Regions from separate parts of the Homo sapiens genome. Here regions 1, 3, 4, 5, 6 and 7 are each linked to region 2. The links are contacts of gene promoters, found by promoter capture Hi-C in blood cells and fetal thymus (Javierre and others, 2016). All regions are on one chromosome and are shown on one strand. Each heading gives the region's core, a stretch centred on a gene start or on the middle of the fragment in contact. The rest is flanking DNA. Distances are from core to core; before and after follow the strand shown. Region 1 has its middle 14 kb from the start of RAB9A. Region 2 holds the start of PIGA (phosphatidylinositol glycan anchor biosynthesis class A). Region 3 overlaps RAB9A (RAB9A, member RAS oncogene family). Region 4 has its middle 7.3 kb from the start of TCEANC. Region 5 overlaps TRAPPC2 (trafficking protein particle complex subunit 2). Region 6 holds the start of TRAPPC2 (trafficking protein particle complex subunit 2). Region 7 overlaps REPS2 (RALBP1 associated Eps domain containing 2).

Region 1 (3,175 bases), core at 196-2,695, 1.7 Mb before region 2:
CCTCTTCCTACATTCCCTAGCACCCTTTCTGATTTTTTTCTTTCTTTTTTTTTTTTGAGATGGAGTCTCACTCTGTCTGCTGGGTTGGAGTGCAGTGGTATGATCTCGGCTCACTGCAACCTCTGCCTTCCGGGTTCAAGCAATTCTCCTGCCTCAGCCTCCTGAGTAGCTGGGATTACAGGCACCTGCAACTACGCCCAGCTAATTTTTTGTATTTTTAGTAGAGACGAGGTTTCACCATATTGGCCAGGCTGGTCTCCATATCCTGACCTCGTGATTCACCTGCCTTGGCCTCCCAAAGCGCTGGGATTACAGGAGTGAGCCACCACCACGCCTGGCCTCTGATTTTTTTTTTCTTTTATTATTATACTTTAAGTTTTAGGGTACATGTGCACATTGTGCAGGTTAGTTACATATGTATACATGTGCCACGCTGGTGCGCTGCACCCACTAACTCGTCATCTAGCATTAGGTATATCTCCCAATGCTATCCCTCCCCCCTCCCCCCACCCCACAACAGTCCCCAGAGTGTGATGTTCCCCTTCCTGTGGCCATGTGATCTCATTGTTTAATTCCCACCTATGAGTGAGAATATGCGGTGTTTGGTTTTTTGTTCTTGCGATAGTTTACTGAGAATGATGATTTCCAATTTCATCCATGTCCCTACAAAGGACATGAACTCATCATTTTTTATGGCTGCATAGTATTCCATGGTGTATATGTGCCACATTTTCTTAATCCAGTCTATCATTGTTGGACATTTGGGTTGGTTCCAAGTCTTTGCTATTGTGAGTAGTGCCGCAATAAACATACGTGTGCATGTGTCTTTAAAGCAGCATGATTTATAGTCCTTTGGGTATATACCCAGTAATGGGATGGCTGGGTCAAATGGTATTTCTAGTTCTAGATCCCTGAGGAATCGCCACACTGACTTCCACAATGGTTGAACTAGTTTACAGTCCCACCAACAGTGTAAAAGTGTTCCTATTTCTCCACATCCTCTCCAGCACCTGTTGTTTCCTGACTTTTTAATGATTGCCATTCTAACTGGTGTGAGATGGTATCTCATTGTGGTTTTGATTTGCATTTCTCTGATGGCCAGTGATGATGAGCATTTTTTCATGTGTTTTTTGGCTGCATAAATGTCTTCTTTTGAGAAGTGTCTGTTCATGTCCTCCGCCCACTTTTTGATGGTGTTGTTTGTTTTTTTCTTGTAAATTTGTTTGAGTTCATTGTAGATTCTGGATATTAGCCCTTTGTCAGATGAGTAGGTTGCAAAAATTTTCTCCAATTTTGTAGGTTGCCTGTTCACTCTGATGGTAGTTTCTTTTGCTGTACAGAAGCTCTTTAGTTTAATTAGATCCCATTTGTCAATTTTGTCTTTTGTTGCCATTGCTTTTGGTGTTTTAGACATGAAGTCCTTGACCATGCCTTAATAGAGCTTATTCACCATTGAAATACAATGCCCTGGCTGGGCGTGGTGGCTCACACCTGTAATCCCAGCACTGGAGGCCGAGGTGGGTGGATCACTTGAGGTCAGGAGTTTGAGACCAGACTGGCCAACATGGTGAAACCCAGTCTCTACTAAAAATACAAAAATTAGCCAGGCATGGTGGCATGTGCCTGTAATCCCAGCTACTTGGGAGCCCAAGGCCCCGGAGAATGGCTTGAACCCGGGAGGTGGAGGTTGCAGTGAGCCAAGACCATGCCACTGCACTACAGTCTGGGTGACAGAGCAAGACCATGTCAAAAAAAAGAAAGAAAGAAAGAGAGAAAGAGAGAGAGGGAAAGAAAGAAAGAAAGAAAGAAAGAAAGAAAGAAAGAAAGAAAGAAAGAAAGAAAGGAAAGAAAGGAAAGAAAGGAAAGAAAGGAAAGAAAGGAAAGAAAGGAAGGAAAGAAAGGAAAGAAAGAAAAGAAAGAAAAAGAAAAGAAAGAAAGAGAAAGAAAGAAATACAATGCCTTGCTCTTGCTCACGGGGTCAGAGATTTTTGTCTTTTTGGTTCACAGCTTATCTCCAGCCCCTAGAATAGTTCTGGCACACAGAGTGCCCTCAAGAAATATTTGTTGAATGAGTGCACCTAAGAAATTTGGAAGAGCCAGGAATATGACAGATCAACACATACGCACATTTAGGTAAAAGATTAGGCCGGGCACGGTGGCTCACACCTGTAATCCCAGCACTTTGGGAGGCCGAGGCGGGCAGATCATGAGGTCAGGAGATTGAGACAATACTGACTAACACGGTGAAACCCTGTCTCTACTAAAAATACAAAAAATTAGCCAGGCGTGGTGGCAGGCGCCTGTAGTCCCAGCTACTCGGGAGGCTGAGGCAGGAGAATGGCGTGAACCCGGGAGGTGGAGCTTGCAGTGAGCCGAGACCGCGCCACTGCACTCCAGCCTGGGCGACAGAGCGAGACTCCATCTCAAAAAAATAAAAAATAAATAAAAAATTTTTAAAAAAGATTGAAAACAAGCTCAGAGGGAGTGATTGTAGTTTATGACAGGCAAAACAATTTGAGAGTGGAAAGAATGGGCAATTGGAAAAGAGAGAGCATTTTTTTTCCCCAGAACATTTTGGAGCTTTTCTTCTCCATGTATGTAGTATCTTTGAGTAAACCTCACATATACTATAAAGTCTTAGGCCATATATGCTCAAACTCTATTATAAAGCTAATTGTTCAATTGTCTTATAATCCTTCCCTTTCTTGTGTGTTATTTTCTGTTTTAATGTTCAATAGCATTGTTAGAAAGAAAAGGAGATTAAAAAAATTCTATTTGTTCACTGTTTTACTTGCCGGAAGACCCTGCAGGTACTTAAGGAATATAGTTGAAAAGGTTATTAAAATTGTTTGGTGATTTTGTGGTTGTTGACTTAGTTGTCTGTTAGCATGCATTACAGACTGTACTTGGCTATATGTTAGTAATTCTAGAAGTGACTCTTTGAAAATAATTTTCCCCAAATCATATACATAAACACTATTTGTAACTCACGAGTTTTTTAAAGTTTATATGCATTTATTTTTGTTATAATTCAGTGGCTTTTAGTATATTCACAAAGTTGTGCGATTATCATCATTATCTAATTCCAGAATGTTTTCATTACCCCAAGAAGGAATCCAGTACCAGTTAATAGCCACTCTCTATTCCACCCTCTTCCCAGCCCCCAGCCCCCCAA
Region 2 (2,994 bases), core at 452-2,951:
GCGGTGTCTAAAGATAAAGGCTAAACTAGAGATGGGCTGTATCTGGGACCATTTTCTCAATTTAAAGTGCGAAATGTTTATCTCAGGGGTCCCCTAAAGCTTTATTAATGTGAAATGCCCACTCAATATTTAGTACTACTGTACATTCTTAGACACTTAAAGCTAAAAAGAATCTTGGATATCTAGTCAAAATCTTCCTCAGCTTTACAAATGAGATTTCCAAGGCTCCAGAAAACAAACAACTATACAATGAGAAGCCATCCTAAAGCTCTGAGTTTCCGGTTTCACCTGCAAACTCAGAAAATGCCAATTAACTGTATGTGCAAAGGCTTAACTGTCTAGTCTCTCCAACAAATTCATCTACTTTTTTTTTTTTTTTTTTTTTTTGAGACGGAGTCTCACTCTGTTGCCCAGGCTAGTGTGCAGTGGAGCGATCTCGTCTCACTGCAGCCTCTGCCTCCCGAGTTCAAGCGATTCTCCCACTTCAGCCTCCTGAATAGCTGGAATTACAGGCGCACACCACAAGCCCAGCTAATTTTTGTATTTTTAGTAGAGACGGGGTTTCATCATGTTGGCCAGGCTGGTCTCGAACCCCTGACCTCAGGTGATCCACCAGCCTCGGCCTCCCAAAGTGCTGGGATTACAGGTGTGAGCCACCGTGCCCGGCCTCATCTACATTTTAAATATACTCTCGGAAAGACCCCAGAAGTGTTTGTTGACTGAGTTTACTAATTAAGATTCAATATTACCAAATATTGAAATTCCCCAAGTTTGTACTTTTAGGTGGCTTAACTAACATTTTCTTACTGTGGTCACCTAAACCCGAACTTCCAGTTCTACCAGTTTTAAAAGATGAACGATAGCAAAAACAGTGAGTAATGAACCAAATGATATCATTTAAAATGTTGTCATTAGCCTGCAACGTTCTGTGAGGAGTCTGCCCACTTCCGCCAGGTTTTCAGTCCAAACATCTTTGACATAAAAGTTCATTATGCTGCACAATCGCAGAATCTTAGCTCTTAAAGCCGAAATGAGGCTTGGAGCTCTAGTGAATACCTCTCTCGTTTTACAAATGAGAACCCAGACAAGTTGAGTGATTTGTCCAAGGTTCCCACCCAGCCACTTAAAGTGGCAAAGACATTACCGTAAAATTCTCGACCACGACCAACGAGCCCTGGGCAATCATTAGCAGTAGAGGTTCCTGAAGAACCTTAGGGAGACCTGGCAGGAGTTGTGGGTCAAGAGAATGGTACTTCCACCGACAATTCCTGGGCACTGTCTGAGCTTCATTCCCTGATTCCCTGAGAGGTCGCTGGGGAAACGCTCGGGCCAAGGAGGGGATACCCCTGCTCAGACAGCGACCCCGCTGGGTTCATGGCGGGGATGGCCAGGCCCAAAGAGAGAAAGAAAACAACCAAAGAGTGGACGTTGGTCTCAGGCCCGGGGTTCCGGAGACCCCAGTCCCTCGACCCACCCGCCTGAGCCAAGGAACCCAGCGCGTCCGCCCTAAACGCACCCTCAGCCCCAACCTACTCTGGAGACCCTCCGACCCAACTTCCGGGCTTCGAACCGGGTCGGTTTCACCCCCTCCACCACCCGCCACGATCCCACGCGCGCAGAACAGCCCCATCCGAAAGCGGCCCAGAGCGCTGGAGAGGGGCGGCGCGACGCGCACTCACCGGTGAGTTCCATGGCCGCCAGTGTCCGGACCTCCCGCGGCTGCAGCCGGAGTCCCTCCCTGCTGTTCCGCAGCACCAATCTAGGGCGTCCGCGCCCAAGGGCCGCGCCCCCGAGGCAGCCAATCACAAAGAGGCGCTGAGGTCACGTCCGAGAGAGACGCTCTGTCGTCCCCACCCTTAAGCGCGAGATGTAACGTCAGCGCGCGCCTGCGCCCGTCTCCTAGAAGCGGCCGACGGTAGGGTGGGTGCTCACCCTGGTTTCCTGGTTACAGCGTCTCTATTCCGGACGCCAGTTCTCTGCGCGCTTGCTTCTGATTGGAGAGACTTTTTGTTTGTAATCAGCTGTGCCACGGCAAAACCGTGCCGGTTCTTACCGCTCTGGGACGTTTGCCAGATAAATAAATAAAAATACACAAAAAGTCAAAACAGATGAAACTATGAAGTTTTAATTTCAGATAAAGCACAAATGATGTTTAATACAAGCATGTACCAAATATTGGGGACTTCACTACACATTCGTTTTTTATCGGACATGTAAATTTAACTAGACATCCTGTTATTTATATGGCAATTCTACACTCTGAGGGAAACATACGAGGTCTGATCTGAAATATCAACTCCCACTCGACTGGTTCAACTAGTTACGATGGTGCTTGACTAGGAAGCTAAAGAATCAGTGAGAGTGGTATGACGGTCATCCATGCGTCACAGCTGGTACTTGGAATCCCCCATCCCTGCCATACGTGCGTTTTCGAGAAGAAATTCCTTTCTGAGTACCATCACAGCCACCGTTACTGGCACCCATTTTATTAAGCCTAGTGTAAGCCTATTCATCCCTGAAAATGTCTGCTCCTTTCTGATGCTTTCCCCAAGCCTCCAGAGAATGAAATACTCTCACTTTTTAATTTTAATAGTACTTTGGCCACATGCTGGCCAAAGTATAACATTTATCAGATGATATTCAAGTTGTTTGCCTGATTGCATTCTCCCTCCTCACCCTGATCCTTGATTACTTGTCTCTTGAGATCTCACATGGACTTCTTTCTGAAAACGGAAATTGTATTTGCTTGTTAAATGTCTGCCTTCCCTGCCAGATAGTAAACTGAGGCAGGATCTGTTCTTGGTAATGGATGTTGAGGAAGTTTTAGTTTAATACATGAATTTCTTTACCCAATGTCAGCACACTCCCTGACACATATTAGATGCTCACAATAAAATGTATTGACAGTATTTCGTGGAGTGTACCTTATACAAATTACAGTGCAATAACATCATTGAAAGAGCATTTTAGTTGTGAGATTTGAAGCGAATTAAT
Region 3 (3,311 bases), core at 763-3,262, 1.6 Mb before region 2:
CTGAGAAGCATATTCACTTGAAAGATTAAAGAGTGAGTGGCTGGGCACGGTGGCTCACGCCTGTAATCCCAGCACTTTGGGAGGCCGAGGTGGGCGGATCACGAGGTCAGGAGTTTGAAACCAGCCTGGCCAACATGGTGAAACTCCGTTTCTACTAAAAATACAAAAATTAGCCAGGCGTGGTGGCGGATGCCCGTAATCCCAGCTACTCAGGAGGCTGAGGCAGGAGAATCGCTTGAACCTGGGAGGCAGAGGTTGCAGTGAGCCGAGATCACGCCATTGCGCTCCAGCCTGGGCAACAGAATGAGACTCCATCTCAAAAAAAAAAAAAAAAAAAAAAAAAAAAGACCAAATAATTTCTGGTAGCAGAATCTGTTTTTTGTTGTAAGGCAAAAATGACAAAAAGAACTTTAGAGCTATTCAGAGCCATTAAAGTGGACTTAGAAAGTTTAGTTTCTGCATTATTTCAGTTGTCTGAGCAGCCTGTGGGGCACTGATACAAAGGTGCTGATGAGAAGGGCGGTGGGGAGTCCCAACCTTCCTGAAGCTTACAGTCCAATCACAGTCATAAGATTAGGTTCTGACATCATCCTAGAACAGAATTTATTGCCTGGGCTACTCAAGGACAGGGGCCAGGTGTTCATTAAAAAAAAGCAAAACAGGAAAAAAAAGCAAAACAGGCTGAGTGTGGTGGCTCATGCCTGTAATCTCAGCGCTTTGGGAGACCCACACAGGAGGATCACTTGAGCCCAGAAGTTTGAGACCAGCCTGGGCAACATAGTGAGACCCCCGTCTCTACAAAAAATAAATTAAAAAAAAAATTAGCCTAGCTCAGTGTGGTGGTGCATGTCCCAGCTACTCTGGAGGCTGAGGCAGAAGGACGACTTGAGCCCTGGAGTTCAAGGCTGCAGTGAGTCATGATCACACCACTGCATTCCAGCCTGGGCGATAGAGTGAGACCTTGTCGCTAAAAAAATAACAATAATTAAAGAAAACAACTCCACACTCGGCACAGAAGTACCTGTGTCATGGTGTTTACTGTGGGCAGACTTAAATAAAATGGGGAAAACTTGATGTGTGTGTTATAGTTTTGTACGGTTAACCACGTGTGAATATTTACAAGAATCAAATTGAGAAGCCATTCTTGTTGAGCATAAAATTCATCCTTAAATTTCACCTCACCAGACAAATAGTTATGCCTGCATTTTATCACTGGAATCGAGAAAGAAATGATGAATTTTTTAATGGCTTTTCCATAACTTTCTGGTGTTTTCTGGTCTCTTTTTCATGCCTGTCTAAGATCAGGCCTTTCAAAATATGTACTGCTTCATTCTGGTGGCAGTATTAACTGTTAGGTGAACTTTGGGAGGGAGTGGTTGACTGGAGCAGTCAAAAAGGATCGCATCTCTTTTTAGGCATCACTGAGTGTTATTCACGCAATCAACATGGCATCTTTTTGTCGGTAGCTTTGGTTTTTGACTCATGCCAATGCACAGCACGTTCTTTGCTGATGAATAGATTTCTCTGCCTCTTATCAGGAGTTGTCTGCTGTGGGGTAGGGAGGATGTTGAGTTACACACCTCAAAATGATTGCTAGTGCATACACATGGAATCTAACAAAAGTGACGTGTTTTATTCTGGGAAAGGTCGAGATAAATTGGTGCTAGAGTTGTCTTGTTTGATCATTAATTGGCTTGCTCCTCCAGCCAACTTAGGTCACCACATTTCCTTCTGGGTAAAATGAGATGGCTGTGCTTCATAATCTCTAGGAGATTATATGTCACAAAGTAGAGGCAGCAAATTATTAGCTTCCAAGTAGTTCTGCCCAGGCAATGTGTTAAGCAGCAGGAGGAGGAAGTAAGCCAAATGGAAGTGTGTGTGTGTTTGGGCAACGCATCTAACTTGAAAGGTGTATAGATAATAGACTCTTCAGTCAGAACCAAGCATAAGAGAATAGGATTTGTGACTAAGTAGGCCATCAACAGAGAACATTTATTAAGGACTTTTTTGTAGAGGAGTGAGGGTGAACTCAAAAAATGTTTCAGGGAGTTTGGTGGAAAGCTATGATGCAATTGGAAGGCGAGGATGCCTGAGGGAGGAGACGTGGAGCCACCTAGGTGTGTAGGCAGAGGGGAGGGAGGTCGGAGGCGGTCCCAGGCCGTGTTGCCAGAGAGCCCAGGGGTGCCAGGGCTAGTTAGATAACTTGGAGGAGAAATCTCTGTTTCTCACCATGACTCTTGGTACTGTGCATGTTGTGAAGCTGTGTGCTCTGGGTATTTCCACATTCTGGATTTTTCAAATCCTTTTGTTAATTTTTGACCATGGTGAGTTCAGGCGTTGTTATTATGTTGCTTATTATGAATACAGTGAGGATGACTAGGTGTAAATGAATGTAAGGTAACAGCTAGATCTGCCTGAGGTGGAGAGAGACTGGGTGTGTATTTTGGAAAAAAAATGGAGAAGTGAAACAGGCTGTTCAGGCTTCACATTCTGGCTGCATGGAAGCCAGCTCATTGCATTCTCCAGGAGTTCTCTGGGAGTCTGTGGACACAGACTCCACTTTTGTCTTAGGCCTGACTCGTACAAACATATTCTGTTGTTTGACAGGGGATGGAGAAACACTATAGAACAACTGGACACATTCATTTCATTGCCACATTCTTTATTCAAGTGTGACAGAGAGCAAAACAGTATAAAGGAGTTGAACTGACTACTGTATTTTAATTTCAAGTTCCTGTGAATTGGATTAGATTTTTGGGTACAGAAGCTAAGGTAATTTCCAAAAGGTTAGTGCCCATAAGACTGTCTATGTTCTCAGAGTTAGAAAAACCTGGGAAAAAAAAAAGCCTTACAGACCTCTGTTTCTACAACTTGCTGTGCAGAACTCTAACAGATAGGAGTGTTTATGCAGCTAGGTGACTGCTCTGGTCTGTGCAGTTTCACACCTGTGTATTTGATCAGATGTATATACCTGGAAATACATACATAATGTGGTTGGAAGTCAGATTAGAACTGCCTGAGGACTACCCATTGGTGAATGCAGAACATTCTTTGGAATGAGTGCTAGTATTCTTAAATAACATTTAAAAATAGTTGTTTGGGAGCAAACAGTTGCCACCCTCATAATCCACTTTAATTTGTGCCCAGTACTTGATTTTTATCACAGCAGTCCTGGAAAACCTAGCTTCATGAAGATATGATGTCATCGAAAGGAATGCAGTGCAATCTAATTAACTCCCCTCCAGTGGGGTGCCCTACAAATGTCAAGTATCTATGTTTCCCTCAGAAATTTAAAATAGCCCACCCTGCCC
Region 4 (3,322 bases), core at 681-3,180, 1.7 Mb before region 2:
CCCAAGAAGGAATAGGGGGTAGAGGTAGTGGCTAGACACATTTCTATTTTTAAAACTGGCTTTTATTGAATGTTGGTGAATTTATCTCAGTACATTGATTTTAATTGGGATACAAAAAAAACTCCTTTGACAAGTCTGAGGCCCTCTAAAAATGTCAAAAAGGCTTAGACTGGGTCAACATCTAAAAAACCAACGTAAATGAACTCAACCTTTTTTCTCTTTAATTCCATCAGACCATGACTACAGATACTAAATAGCTGTGTTCTGTCTCTATTCAAAGTGTTGTCCTGGAGTTGTGTAGATGCAGCTTCATCATTCTGTCTGGTCAAGGAATGGTAAGGTAATATGAACTTTGGGATTTTTGTACATACAAGCAAGGGTCCTTTTTGTGTGTGGAGAATGGGGTTCTAGGTTGACCTTTTTAGAAATCTGGCATTTTTAAATGTCATATCTATGCTTCATAAAAAATTCTAGTATTAATATGCACATGAAAAAAATCTGTAAAATGATTTATAGATGTAAAATAGACTTACATCTTGGGAGGCAGTAGTATAGACTTACATCTTGGGAGGCAGTAGTATAGACTTACATCTTGGGAGGCAGTAGTATGGTGTGGTGGTGAGTCTGCCTGGGGCCAGAAAGAGCTGCCCCTAAGTGGGCTTAAGACAGAAAGGTTACATATGCATAAGATAGAGGGGTTACATATGCATATTTTTGACCAAAATAATTATCTTGTGTATATCTTTAATCAATTTGGTAGTGTCATATAAATTGTTTTACATTTCTATGTTGTCTTATTTGTTTGTTTGGTTTGGTTTCCTCCACTCTGTGGCCACTAAGAGTGCTGAATGTCATTAGGTAAGAGCTAATTACCCTTTCTTTCTCAATAATTTCTTTGACGGCCTATATATTTATTTTAATGACAATGTTGCTCAAAACACATTTGAAATTGCCTTTTTCAGGTACACAAATCATACAAGAGACTTGGCATTGTCAATTTATGGTTAAAATTTTTGGTCATCATTTATGACCAAAAATAGCATTACCAACCCAGAATTCCACTGCTAGGTATATACCTAATAGAAATGAATAGTAGCACTATTTGTATTAGTCCCAGTGGAACAACCCAAATATCCATAATGTCCATTGTTAGAATGGATGCACTGTAGTGTATTCATTCAATAAAGGACTATGAAGACATGAGAATGAATAGCTTAACGCTGCCCACAGCAACACAGACAAATTTCAAAAATATGTAATTGATCAAAAGAAGCCAGAAAGTACATACTGTACACTTCCATTTACTTAAGTTTCAAAATCAGGCAAAATTAATCTATAGCGGTAAAGTTGGGATTCTGTTTATGCTTTTACCCGTGGTGGGGGCGGGATGCTGGAAGGGAACACAAGGGGAGAATTTCTGGGGGGCTGGTAATTCTGCTTCATGGTGCCTTTTGAATGGACATGTTCACTGTGAAAATTAACAAGCAGTACACTTACGATTTGTACACTGACTTTTCTATATATGTGTCATACTTCAGTAAGAACTTCTTTCAAAAATAAAAGTATTACTCCCCCTACCCCTTAAGATGAACCTCTTCTGTCTGACATTGTGCTGAATGACTCGGGACACCTAGAGTGAATTCAGCTCTCAGCGCCAGGTAGGTTGTGGCTGAAGCTACACAGACTCAGGTATAATCCAGCCACGGATGACTTTTGTTGTGGGTGTTCACTGGCCTGCCATCCAGGCTGCTGGAGGTGAATGGCATGGGAATCTGGAGAGGAAGTTCAACGGGCCCAGGGGCTGAAGTTTGAGGAAATATTCCTGCTGCTCAAGAGCCTGGAACTCTCACCTGCCCCACATCTATTAGTCTTTCTGGACAATGATGGAAGTTTCTACGTCTCCCTTTTCTATCCCTGTTACTTCTTTTAAAAGTCTTTTTCCTCCTAGGATTAGTCCAGGCTATCCTCACCCAGCTCTCCTGATGAATGTGAACGGCTTTCCACTTGCATCAGTTTTTTGGAGTCTTCTCTCAGAGTTCCAGCAGTGCCCCCTTGTGACTGCATGTGTGTGGCTGCCACCAGGCAAACAGCAGAGCTGTTTCCAGGATCTCCTCCTACTCCCTCTTTGCTCCATTTCTTCTCCTCCCTGGTGTTTTATGAACTCATGCTTCTTTCTGGGTACCCAGAACCTTCCAATTCAGTCACCCTTAAGATCTCGAAGAATCCAATCTTGCAGACCTTTCATTCCCTCCCAATTCTCCCCATCAACATTTACTTATCCTATGTCCCATTCCATTGGTCTCTGACAAGGGAGACGATCCTTACAATATAACTCAGGCATAGCAAATAAACAGCTTCAAGTGTAACCTTTCCTAAGTAATAGTTGCTGTTTTATAATAGCAGCTTTCAATGTCTTCATCCAAAGGAATGAGTAAGAAAGGAATTCTAGCACCATGGTAAGGTCAGGGGTTCTCTTCTGATGTCCCTCAAATCACACAGCCATATTAAGACAGGCTGTGTCAGTTAGTGTTTACTGTTAGCAAGCCACCAAAACAGACCCAGCAGAGGGAAGTTATAGTAAGGATAGCAGGAATGTACAGGTGGAGGGAGAGACCAGCCAGCCAGCTTTGGAAATGGGCCGCTGGGCTAGAAGCAGAACTGTGGGAAAGGAGCCATTGGAGGAATGGTCTCATAAGGACACCACCCTCATCTTAATGATCTTTCACCATGTTTAGACTCCACATCATTCTGCTTAAAATTCACATTCCAGGGAGGATGTGCAATCGGGCCAGCTGGGGTCATCTGGCTGCCACCTGGCTAGGGCAGAATAGGCACCTGATTGGCTGTTTGGAAGGTGTGCTGAAGCTGGGTGGTCCAAACTCACCAAAGCCCACCATGTGAATGAACCCCATCATGCAAATCTGAGATCGAGTACATGTAATTATCCCAGGCCACATACCAGTGTAATAGATCTACTCTCATAACGACAAAAGAGTTGACAACTTCATTCTCTTCAGCAACCAGAAACCTAGGTGGGGTCTGAGTCAAGGTTTGAAATGAAGAACAACTAATATAAACATTATTGCCAGGCACAGTGGCTCACGCCTGTAATCCCAGCACTTTGGGAGGCCGAGGCAGGTGGATCACTTGAGATCAGGAGTTCCAGACCAGCCTGGCCAACATGGTGAAACCCTATCTCTACTAAAAATACCAAAAAAATCAGCCTGGTGTGGTGGCACCTGCCTGTAATCCCAGCTACTCGAGAGGCTGAGGCAGGAGAATTGCTTGAACCCAGGAGGCAGAGGTTGCGGTGAGCCAAGAT
Region 5 (2,930 bases), core at 117-2,616, 1.6 Mb before region 2:
TTACAATTCATTAATGGACTAAATGTTTTTATTTTTCACCCTTGGGGAAAGTTTCCTAGTTGAAGTTAAAACATTCCTACTATTACTTGTCTTAGAAGAAAACCTTTTTATATTTCTGTACAAACTTTTCATTTTAATATTGTGACACCACCATGCAAGTTCTCACACAATATCCGTGTCTTGTAGAGTAGTGAAGTGTTTGTTAAGTAGAAAAACACACCAGTGTGGTACCCAGTGAAAGGTGGTGTCTGGAGAGTCAGTGGTTTCTGGAACTCTGGACTGTCAACCAGGAAGTGTTGAAGTGACTGAAAAATTAAAGCACATGGGTAATAGCATGGGCAGAGCAGAGACTGAGACGATCTATGTCCATGCCAAAGGAAGCATCCTAGTAAGTTTCTGGCTATGGCAAGATGACAAAACTCGGTGTACGTTTTATCTGGATCACTTTTGGAGCACTAAAGCAGATAACCAACTTTGTGCTAACATACATGTGCTCAGGAGAGCCTGATTTTAAGACTGACTTCACCCCATTGCTCTTGTGTTCCAGAACCTTCAAGGAACATCACCTACCAGATCCAAGCTTTGCCAGCTTAGCTTTCCTCATGATCAGCTCCTATCTATCTATCAATCAATCAGCTGTCAGTTCCACCCATGTGCCCAAGTGCTCTTCACACCTTCACACCTGCAATGCTTTCCTGTGCAGCCTACCTTGGAGGTCCCACTCAATGCTCCACTTCCCTTCCAGCTCCTTTGAAGACTCAGTCACACATGAAATTTGGCATTTAACTTTAGTAATATACTCACAAGTGTGTTACTAGTGCCTACCTCACCTTCACCAGCCTGGAGAAAAGGCTATTTTCAGGGTACCACTGTTGTGCAGCTGAGCCAAGTCTTCCTGCTCTCAATCAATCACCCTGCTGCTCTTGGCTGCCCTGCATCACAGCCCTCTGGATGATATGCTCATTGAGGGAGGGGCCAACTATATACAAAAAAATACACGTTTGCTGAAATTACTCCTAGATTTCTAGATGAGTATGTAAATTTTTCTGCTCCCAAAGCTCTGGCATCTAGTTTGAGTCAATCTGAGCTCTATAACAGGTGAAGACATCATATTAGTTTGCAGACTAGACTATCAATAGGAGAAATAGGACGAAAGCAGCACTTTAAAAATGGATATTAAACTACCACGATCTTGAGCAAACATCTTTATTTAAGAAATCAAATAGGGTAAAAATTATGCAATTTCACACAAGGATACAAGACAAAGCTTAGAATTACTTGCTCAAAAGTTACTCAGAATGGAACAAAATTGTTCAAGTGCTCCCAATTAGCACAGGCTGTATTACTTGCTTTTCAATGGACATTTACTATTTTACATTAAGATCTACTTATAGGAACAAAGAGACAATTCCCAGCCCCCTCTGGTGTATCACCTAAAAGACTGAATACAAATGTTAATGTAATCCAAGCTTTTCTTTGACAACAATACTAAAAATTGCCTTACAATTTTTTACAAGTACGAGTATCAACAGTTTACTGTCTGAGGGAAAGGAAATATAAGAATATAAAGTGACAGAAGCAACACACTTCACTGTGGCCTGCAACTGCTCCCAGCGTCCTATTTTATAAACATGATTTGGGTTCTCACATTATAGCAGGATCACTATTCCTAGCCTCTGGTGGAAGCAGACATGTGACACTTAGCACTGCACAAGTGTTTCTTTGGCTTCTTGAGTAGTGCTGTGTATACTGCCTATACATTTTTATAACATCTCTAAATGCATAATGTCAACGTATGTGCTATCACATTTCACTCCCAACTGCAGAATATTTTAATTTTAAATTTATCTACCAAATCTTGACTATGACATTTATTTTTGGGTTGTTACATTAAGATCAACCTATCTGGGCCGGGCACGGTGGCTCACACCTGTAATCCCAGCACTTTGGGAGGCTGAGGCAGGAGAATTGCTTGAAGTCAGGAGGCAGAGGTTACGGTGAAACAACTGCCATTGCACTCCAGCCTGGACAACAGAGCGAAACTCCATCTCAAAAAAAAAAAAAAAACCCCAAAGATCAACCTATCTGAATTGGGTAAGTCAAAAGCTTATTCCTGGCCGGGCACGGTGGTTCATGCCTGTAATCCTAGCACTTTGGGAGGCTGAGGCGGGTGGATCAACTGAGGTCAGGAGTTTGAAACCAGCCCGGCCAAAATAGCGAAACCCCGTCTCTACTAAAAACACAAAAATTAGCCAGGTGTGGTGGTGCATGCCTGTAATCCCAGCTACTCGGGAGGCTGAAGAAGGAGAATTGCTTGAACCCAGGAGGTGGAGGTTGCAGTGAGCCAAGACTGTGCCACTGCACTCCAGCCTGCACAACAGGAGCAAGACTCCATCTCAAAAAAACAAAAAACAAAAAACAAAAACAAAAACCCACAAAAAACCAAAAAGCTTATTCCCAATTTTTAAGTAAAAATATTTCATGGCCGGGCGTGGTGGCTCACACGCCTGTAATCCCAGCACTTCCTGAGGTGGGTGGATCACGAGGTCAGGAGTTCAAGACCAGCCTGACCAATATGGTGAAACCCTGTCTCTACTAAAAATACAAAAATTAGCCAGGTGTGGTGGTGCACGCCTATAATCTCAGCTACTCGGGAGGCTGAAGAAGGAGAATTGCTTGAACCCGGGAGGTGGAGGTTGCAGTGAGCCAAGATCGTGCCACTGCACTACAGCCTGCACAACAGGAGCAAGACTCCATCTCAAAAAAAAAAAAAGCGAGCTTATTCCCAATTTTTAAGTAAAAATATTTCATGGTTGGGCACGGTGGCTCACGCCTGTAATCCCAGTACTTTGGGAGGCCAAGGCGGGCAGATCACGAGGTCAGGAGTTCAAGACCAGCCTGACCAATATGGTGAAACCCTGTCTCTACTA
Region 6 (3,186 bases), core at 555-3,054, 1.6 Mb before region 2:
TTTTGTAGCATGCCTCTTTACAACCTCTATAGAAGAGCTTCTAGAAAAACTGCCCTGTGCTCGCGAGAGCAGTGATTTCAGTTGTTCCATAAACCTGGGGTCATGAGACTAAACTGGTATGGCATGGGACATGTCTATTACAATGAGGAGGGGCAGTAGGAATACTACTGATAGGTCTTTAATGTGACATTTTTCTATTAATATTATAAGCAATTCTCCCTCCCCTAGAAGTTATGCTAGTTTTTGGAGAACATTTTATCTAATTATATTCATGTATTCAACTGTGGGACCAAAGGTGGAGGTGGGAGTAAGGGGGTCTTCAGGAACATTTTTTTTTTTTAAACAGTGGACAAGTGATTCTACTTAACAACATTTACAACATATCAACATCTTTTTAGAACACTGTTTTCATCATTCCACTCAAAAGCCTTTGATGCATCTCAGCTACAGGATCATGTACTAGTATTCAAGATTCCCACATTGCTCCACGTGTCTTTTCTCAGCCCTATTGTTCCACCTCTGCTAGCGTTGACTCGTTTACTTATTTTTTCTCCCAAATTCACTTTGACTATATCGAGTTCAGAGCTACTATCATTTCTCTCTTCATGCCTGGAATGTTCTCCTTTATTCTGTCTGCAACCACTACCCATCCTTTAAAATCCAACTAAGCCTCTCCTCCTTTTCCATTGTTTCCAACAAAAACTTACAGGTTCTCCACCTCCTATGAAGTCCTGTCACTCTTACTGCCTCTTAAATACTTTAAGTTTTTCACAGCCAGAGATCAAAACTCATCGTACTCATCTTCAATGCTGTACACAAAGCTGACATCCAATTCTGTCCTCACAGGACTTAGATACCATATAAGGCTTATATTCCCAGCACACAACTCTGGAGTCAGGCTAGATTCCTCACTGCTCCCAAGAAGGTCGTGGCTTTTTTTTTTCTTTTAATGATTCCTTTGCTCATTTTTCCCCTTCCTGTGATGTTCTCCTTTTTGCTCACCACCCGAATCCTACCCATCAAGGCCCCGATAAAGACACACTTTTTCCACAGAGATGATCTGGATCACTTCCATCTTCAACCACCTCCCCTTTAAACTCTTTATCCAGTCTACAATGTATCTTAGTTCTTGTTCAATTCTCTGGCTGTAACATTTTCATTATCGCTTCTGAGAGGTTTGGTTCCTTTCCTTTCTAATTACATTTAAGCATCATGAGGACTGGCTCACCTTTACCTCACAGCACACAATGGTTGGTACTCTAAAACGTTTAGCTCTGTGGATCTCAACCCGGAGCGATCTTGCTTCCAAGAGGACATCTGGCAATATCTGGAGACATCTTTGGTTGTCACACTTGGGGGAGAAGGTGATACTGACAAAATAGAGAGCAAGGATACAGCTAAACCTACAATGCACAGGACAGCCTCCCAAAACAAAGAATCTTCCGGCTCCAAAAGGCAACAGTGCAGCCGTTAAGAAACCCTGGGTTAGCTGAATGACCCAGTGAACCGCGAAACCACAGCCCCCGAGAGGGCGGACGTCTGCAGGTGGAAGGGCTGCGCGGATGAGCCAGCGGAGGGCTGGCAGGTCCGGCCCGGCCACCCCGGGGAGGGGTGGAGGTACAGGACCAACATCCGCGTCACGCAGGGGCTACGAAGTCCTCCAGGGACTCAAAACACCCGCCCCCCGCCGCACTTGCTCCATTCCCTACCTGCAGTGGGAGGCCGACAACGGAAACGCAATGTCAGTTTCCGCGGAAGAGACCCGCGCCCCGAACCTGTAGCCAGAACGCCGAAGCAGTTCTCGCGATACCCTGGGATGTGCTCTCGCGATACGTAGGCGGAGCTTCCGGCCGGTGCTGGGCAACCAAGCTCATGCGCCGTAGCTCTTCAGCTCGGGAAGGCTATATTTAGCAGGTTTCCGGAAGTTGCCGGACTGGCTGTGAGGCGGTCCTGCCTCGCTGCCTTCAGTCCCTAGTGTCTGGGTCCCCGCCCTCCAGCCGCCTTTGAGTCGTGCCTGGGTCCTCGCCCTTGCCTCAGAACCGCGAAGAAAGGAAGCTCGCGTGTTTGCTAGAAAACCTAGTTGGGAGTGCGAGGCAGAGAACGTTCAGCACCTTTGTTCCTCCCGAACCCTCGGGACAGAGGCAGGGTTCTGAGGGCAGGGATTCCCCCTCGTCTTGGCCCCACCGCCCGGGCTGGGCACTAAACTCGGGCCGCGGCGGGGCGAGCGAGGCGGGCTCCGGAGGGAGCTGACGCCTGATGATGGCGCAGGTAGACACACCTGCCCCTTCTCGGGCGGAAATAAAGTCTTGTTTTGTGTTCGTTAAACTTTCGCCGCTAGGCCTCTTATGGCTTCCCCGGAGGCCACTGGTCTGTTTTCAGACGTTCACGTTCCCTCTGCCCCGCAGGTAACCTATAACCATTTTGTCTTTTAGTCCAACATGTTTACCGTGGCTGATGTGTTGAGTCAAGATGAACTGCGCAAAAAGCTATACCAGACGTTTAAGGATCGGGGTATACTGGATACACTCAAGGTATCGGATTTAGGCGTATCTGTGTCAGCTTTTACAAGTGTAACCTGTAACAGGTAGTTCAAATTCAATCAAGGTTTAGGTTTTAATAATCGTATGATACATAGATTGTATTGGTGAATTACATTTTTATATTCCCGAATAACTCTGTATCCTGAAACATTACAGTCTCTTGAAAATGTTTGAGAAAATGTTGAGTTTGAGTCGTCTTAAAGGAGCATATTCAAATAATTAATTGAACTGACAATAAGATAGGAGAAGGAAATATTTGTATAATGAACACAGTAAGATTAGGCTTGTTTTATAAATATGGCTTATAGGTTCCTAAATTAATAAGTGGGTTTGTAATACATTTGGATGAAGGACATTGACACCATATAGAAAATACTAGTGTACTGCTTAATAATAGTTTGGGAAATGAAAAATTTTATCTTTAAACTATATTGAAATGTATGAATGTTTAGTTTGGGCAGAAAATACCTATTAGTATGCTTTATATTTGGATTAACAGCCAGGAGTAGGATTAGCTCAACGTGTTTTCATTGAAATATGCATTTCAAAAGCATATTTTACGTTTAAAATATGTAGCTATATCCTGTGTATGTATCCTTTTTTAATTTAAATTATATGGTGAGCATTTCCCTGTTTCCTTAAAAGT
Region 7 (2,953 bases), core at 415-2,914, 1.6 Mb after region 2:
CTTGAAGGGTGTGTGTGTCCGTAGGGTTCGAGGCCCAGGGCTGAATGTTGTCCTCTCTATGTAGTTGTAATATATAAGTATCTACTATATGTAATTGCCCATAACATATTTCTAAATATTAATATTAAATCGAAAACCTTAATGACAAGTTGCAGAACAGGGACACGGGACTGCAAGAGGACGTTTGTCAAGTCAAAACCAAATTTCCCATTTGAGATTAGAGGTGGACTTCAGAAGTCCACCATGGGAAACAGCTGTAGTTTCCCATCTATCATTACTTGGACTTGAAATAGAATTGAAAGGTAAGGGATGTCATAGCTACCACCTTTTGGCTGTTCTATACTTGGAAAAGTACTAGGGGATGATACATACCAGACGCTGTTTTTGTTTTGTGCTTTCCTTGGAGCTTGGAGAAAGACTACTTGATAAGCCTTTGTCTGTCATTTCATGTCACCAGCACTTCATGGTGATAAGACTGTTAATATCAGGTTCAAAACGTGAAATGAAGCTTTTCCTAAAAGCAATAGTATGAATGTTATTAACACCAATGGAATATTTAGAGTGGCGAGTGGTATTTTAAAATCTAGTTTCAAAGGAGAACTGAGGGTTTTATGGTTCACTTGCAATGTCATTGTGTTCATACGTATTTTTAAAAAAATTGCTTAAGACTGCGTTTTATACTGCTGGAGTGTTTTTACTGCTATATGTTTGTGAGCATAACTTTAGACACTTTGTAATCTTTCACCCTTTTGAATTTGGGATTTCTGAAACTGTAACTAGTATTCACAGAACTTAGCATGGCTGTTTATCCCTAAAGAAGTCCTTGATATGTAGACAGTTCTGCCATTGCTGATGAGTAGTTGAGCTGGATCAGGTAAAGAGAAAGTCAGTGTCTTAAAACACAAACCGTGGCTATTACATGAGGCCCTCAGAATAGTCCCGAGCATAATACATTTATTCAGTGCTGTAGCTGCTTCCCAGCTGAAAGAGGAATAATTGACTGAGGCTATGCAGCAAGTAAGTGACAGCTGGGTACCTATTAAGGCTTATTTTGTTGTCAGTAATGCATCGGATAAGAGGAGGTGGGCATAGTAAATCTGAATATGTTGGTTGATGCCTCTTTAGGAATTGGGAAGAAGGATTTCCTGATGTTAGAACCCATGCTTTCTTGAGGTACATATAGTTTTAAAAGGACCCAAGGCACAGTGGCTGTGCGTGAATGAGATTATATTTTTGATGTCCAGTTGAAATCTGCTTGCAAAAGACTGCTTCAGATACTGGCAAAAGGGGACATCCCTGCGAGATTGCTTGGAGTAAATCTCTCAGAGCTCGAAGCTCCCTTATTCAGCCTAGCAAAGCAAAACACATCATCCACCTTTAATCCAACAAAATTACCATAACTCAATATTCTTGGTACAGGTGAAAATGAACATTGAAGGCATCCTGGACATGTGATCCTAAGAGAGTCAAACAAAGTCAGCAACCAGCAGACACCTAATTTTCACCCATCACTTTGGTGGTGGTGGTGGTGGTGGTGGTGGTGGTGGTGTGTGTATGCTCCATCCACTTTAATTTGCATTACCCCATCAGTGTATTAGCCATTCTTTAAAACAAACGTAGATGTTTTTACCCTTTCTCTGTTAAACAGGAACCTGTAAGTTGAGATTTAAGTGCCCCAACAGGTATAACTGCTCAAATCTTGGAGGCACTAACCAGTCCTGATATTTTCTATGGTAACAACCAGGTTTTCCTCTTAATAAGCATACAATTAAGATTACCATAATAATGTTCCAGGAAGAGTGAGAATCTTGCATTCTTACCACAAGTAAATGGTCTATAAAAATACTTATTTTTTATTTATTTATTTTTTGAGATGGAGTCTCGTTCTGTTGCCCAGGCTGGAGTGCGGTGGCGTGATCTTGGCTCACTGCAACCTCTGCCTCCCGGGTTCAAGCGATTCTTCCGCCTCAGCCTCCTGAGTAGCTGGGACTACAGGCGCACGCCACCTCTCCCGGCTAATTTTTGCATTTTTAGTAGAGACGGCGTTTTGCCATGTTGGCCAGGCTGGTCTCGAACTCCTGACTTCAGGTGATCCACCCGCCTCAGCCTCCCAAAGTGCTGGGATTACAGGCGTGAGCCACCATGCCTGGCCTTAACATATTTTTTAATAGACTATTTTTTTTTTTCAGAGCAGTTTTAGGTTCACAGCAAAATTTAGCAGAGTACCCATATATCCCCTGCCCCGACACACCCGTAGCTTTCCTTACTCTCAACGTCCCACATCAGAATAATAGAGTTTTTACAATTGATGAACCTACATTGACACCTCATTATTCCCCAAAGTCTATATATTAGGGCTCACTCTTGGTGTTGTACATTCTGTGGGTTTGGACAAATGTATAATGACGGTTCCACCATTGTAGTATCATACAGAATAGTTTCACTGCTCTAAAAATCTGTGCTCTATTGATTCATCCCTCCCTCTCCACTAACATGTGGCAATCACTGATTTTTTTTTTTTTTTTACTGTCCCCATAGTTTTGCCTTTTTTAGAATGTCATATAGTTGGAGTCATACAGTATATAGGCTTTTCACTTTGGCTTCTTTCATGTAGTACTATGCACTTAAAATTCCTTCATGTCTTTTTATGGTTTGGTGGCTCATTTCTTTATAGTGCTGAATAATATTCCATTGTCTGCATGTACTACAATTTATTTATTCACCTACTGAAGGATATCTTGGTTGCTTCCAAGTTTGGGCAATTATGGATAAAGCTGTTATAAACATCTGTATGCAGCCTTTTTTGTTACATGCAGGAGATAAGCTTTTGACTCATTTGGGTAAATAGCAAGGGGCATGATTGCTAGATTGTATGGTGAGAGTATATTTAGTTTTATAAGAAACTGCCAAACTGCTTTCCAAAGTGATTGTACCATTTTGCGTTCCCATCAGC

The links. Contacts are between HindIII fragments. The CHiCAGO score rates a contact against its expected background, and 5 or more counts as called.
Region 1: a fragment that was not itself captured here is called in contact with the fragment with the promoter of PIGA in region 2 in 4 of 17 cell types (non-activated CD4 T cells, naive CD8 T cells, total B cells and 1 more); the score reaches 6.8 in non-activated CD4 T cells.
Region 3: a fragment that was not itself captured here is called in contact with the fragment with the promoter of PIGA in region 2 in 5 of 17 cell types (non-activated CD4 T cells, naive CD4 T cells, neutrophils and 2 more); the score reaches 10.3 in non-activated CD4 T cells.
Region 4: a contact is called between a fragment that was not itself captured here and the fragment with the promoter of PIGA in region 2, in 4 of 17 cell types (naive CD8 T cells, total B cells, non-activated CD4 T cells and 1 more). The highest score is 8.7, in naive CD8 T cells.
Region 5: a fragment that was not itself captured here is called in contact with the fragment with the promoter of PIGA in region 2 in 1 of 17 cell types (non-activated CD4 T cells); the score reaches 5.5 in non-activated CD4 T cells.
Region 6: a contact is called between the fragment with the promoter of TRAPPC2 here and the fragment with the promoter of PIGA in region 2, in 13 of 17 cell types (fetal thymus, non-activated CD4 T cells, naive B cells and 10 more). The highest score is 19.7, in fetal thymus.
Region 7: a fragment that was not itself captured here is called in contact with the fragment with the promoter of PIGA in region 2 in 7 of 17 cell types (non-activated CD4 T cells, fetal thymus, activated CD4 T cells and 4 more); the score reaches 9.4 in non-activated CD4 T cells.

What each region holds. Positions count from the first base shown.
Region 1 is chrX:13,673,659-13,676,833 of GRCh38, forward strand. No RefSeq gene overlaps it. Among named protein-coding and RNA genes, the nearest start is that of RAB9A, 14 kb to the right of the region's middle. The HindIII fragment of the contact is 4,024 bases long and covers 1-3,175 here.
Region 2 is chrX:15,333,822-15,336,815 of GRCh38, forward strand. It overlaps PIGA (phosphatidylinositol glycan anchor biosynthesis class A), which reads right to left and starts at 1,702. Exons shown (of 6, transcript NM_002641.4): 1 at 1,680-1,702. RefSeq lists enhancers at 1,454-1,503, 1,554-1,633. The HindIII fragment of the contact is 3,001 bases long and covers 98-2,994 here.
Region 3 is chrX:13,691,342-13,694,652 of GRCh38, forward strand. The region is part of intron 1 of RAB9A (RAB9A, member RAS oncogene family); the gene reads left to right. Among named protein-coding and RNA genes, the nearest start is that of RAB9A, 3.9 kb to the left of the region's middle. RefSeq lists a silencer at 721-917. The HindIII fragment of the contact is 2,934 bases long and covers 546-3,311 here.
Region 4 is chrX:13,644,192-13,647,513 of GRCh38, forward strand. No RefSeq gene overlaps it. Among named protein-coding and RNA genes, the nearest start is that of TCEANC, 7.3 kb to the right of the region's middle. The HindIII fragment of the contact is 5,934 bases long and covers 1-3,322 here.
Region 5 is chrX:13,711,053-13,713,982 of GRCh38, forward strand. TRAPPC2 (trafficking protein particle complex subunit 2) reads right to left here. Exons shown (of 6, transcript NM_001011658.4): 6 at 1,193-2,930. Among named protein-coding and RNA genes, the nearest start is that of TRAPPC2, 22 kb to the right of the region's middle. The HindIII fragment of the contact is 202 bases long and covers 1,266-1,467 here.
Region 6 is chrX:13,732,816-13,736,001 of GRCh38, forward strand. TRAPPC2 (trafficking protein particle complex subunit 2) reads right to left here and starts at 1,805. Exons shown (of 6, transcript NM_001011658.4): 1 at 1,710-1,805; 2 at 1,229-1,370. OFD1 (OFD1 centriole and centriolar satellite protein) reads left to right here and starts at 1,933. Exons shown (of 23, transcript NM_003611.3): 1 at 1,933-2,268; 2 at 2,433-2,531. The coding sequence starts at 2,257. RefSeq lists enhancers at 1,307-2,506, 2,275-2,846. The HindIII fragment of the contact is 7,868 bases long and covers 1-3,186 here.
Region 7 is chrX:16,947,556-16,950,508 of GRCh38, forward strand. The region is part of intron 1 of REPS2 (RALBP1 associated Eps domain containing 2); the gene reads left to right. Among named protein-coding and RNA genes, the nearest start is that of REPS2, 2.4 kb to the left of the region's middle. The HindIII fragment of the contact is 2,316 bases long and covers 507-2,822 here.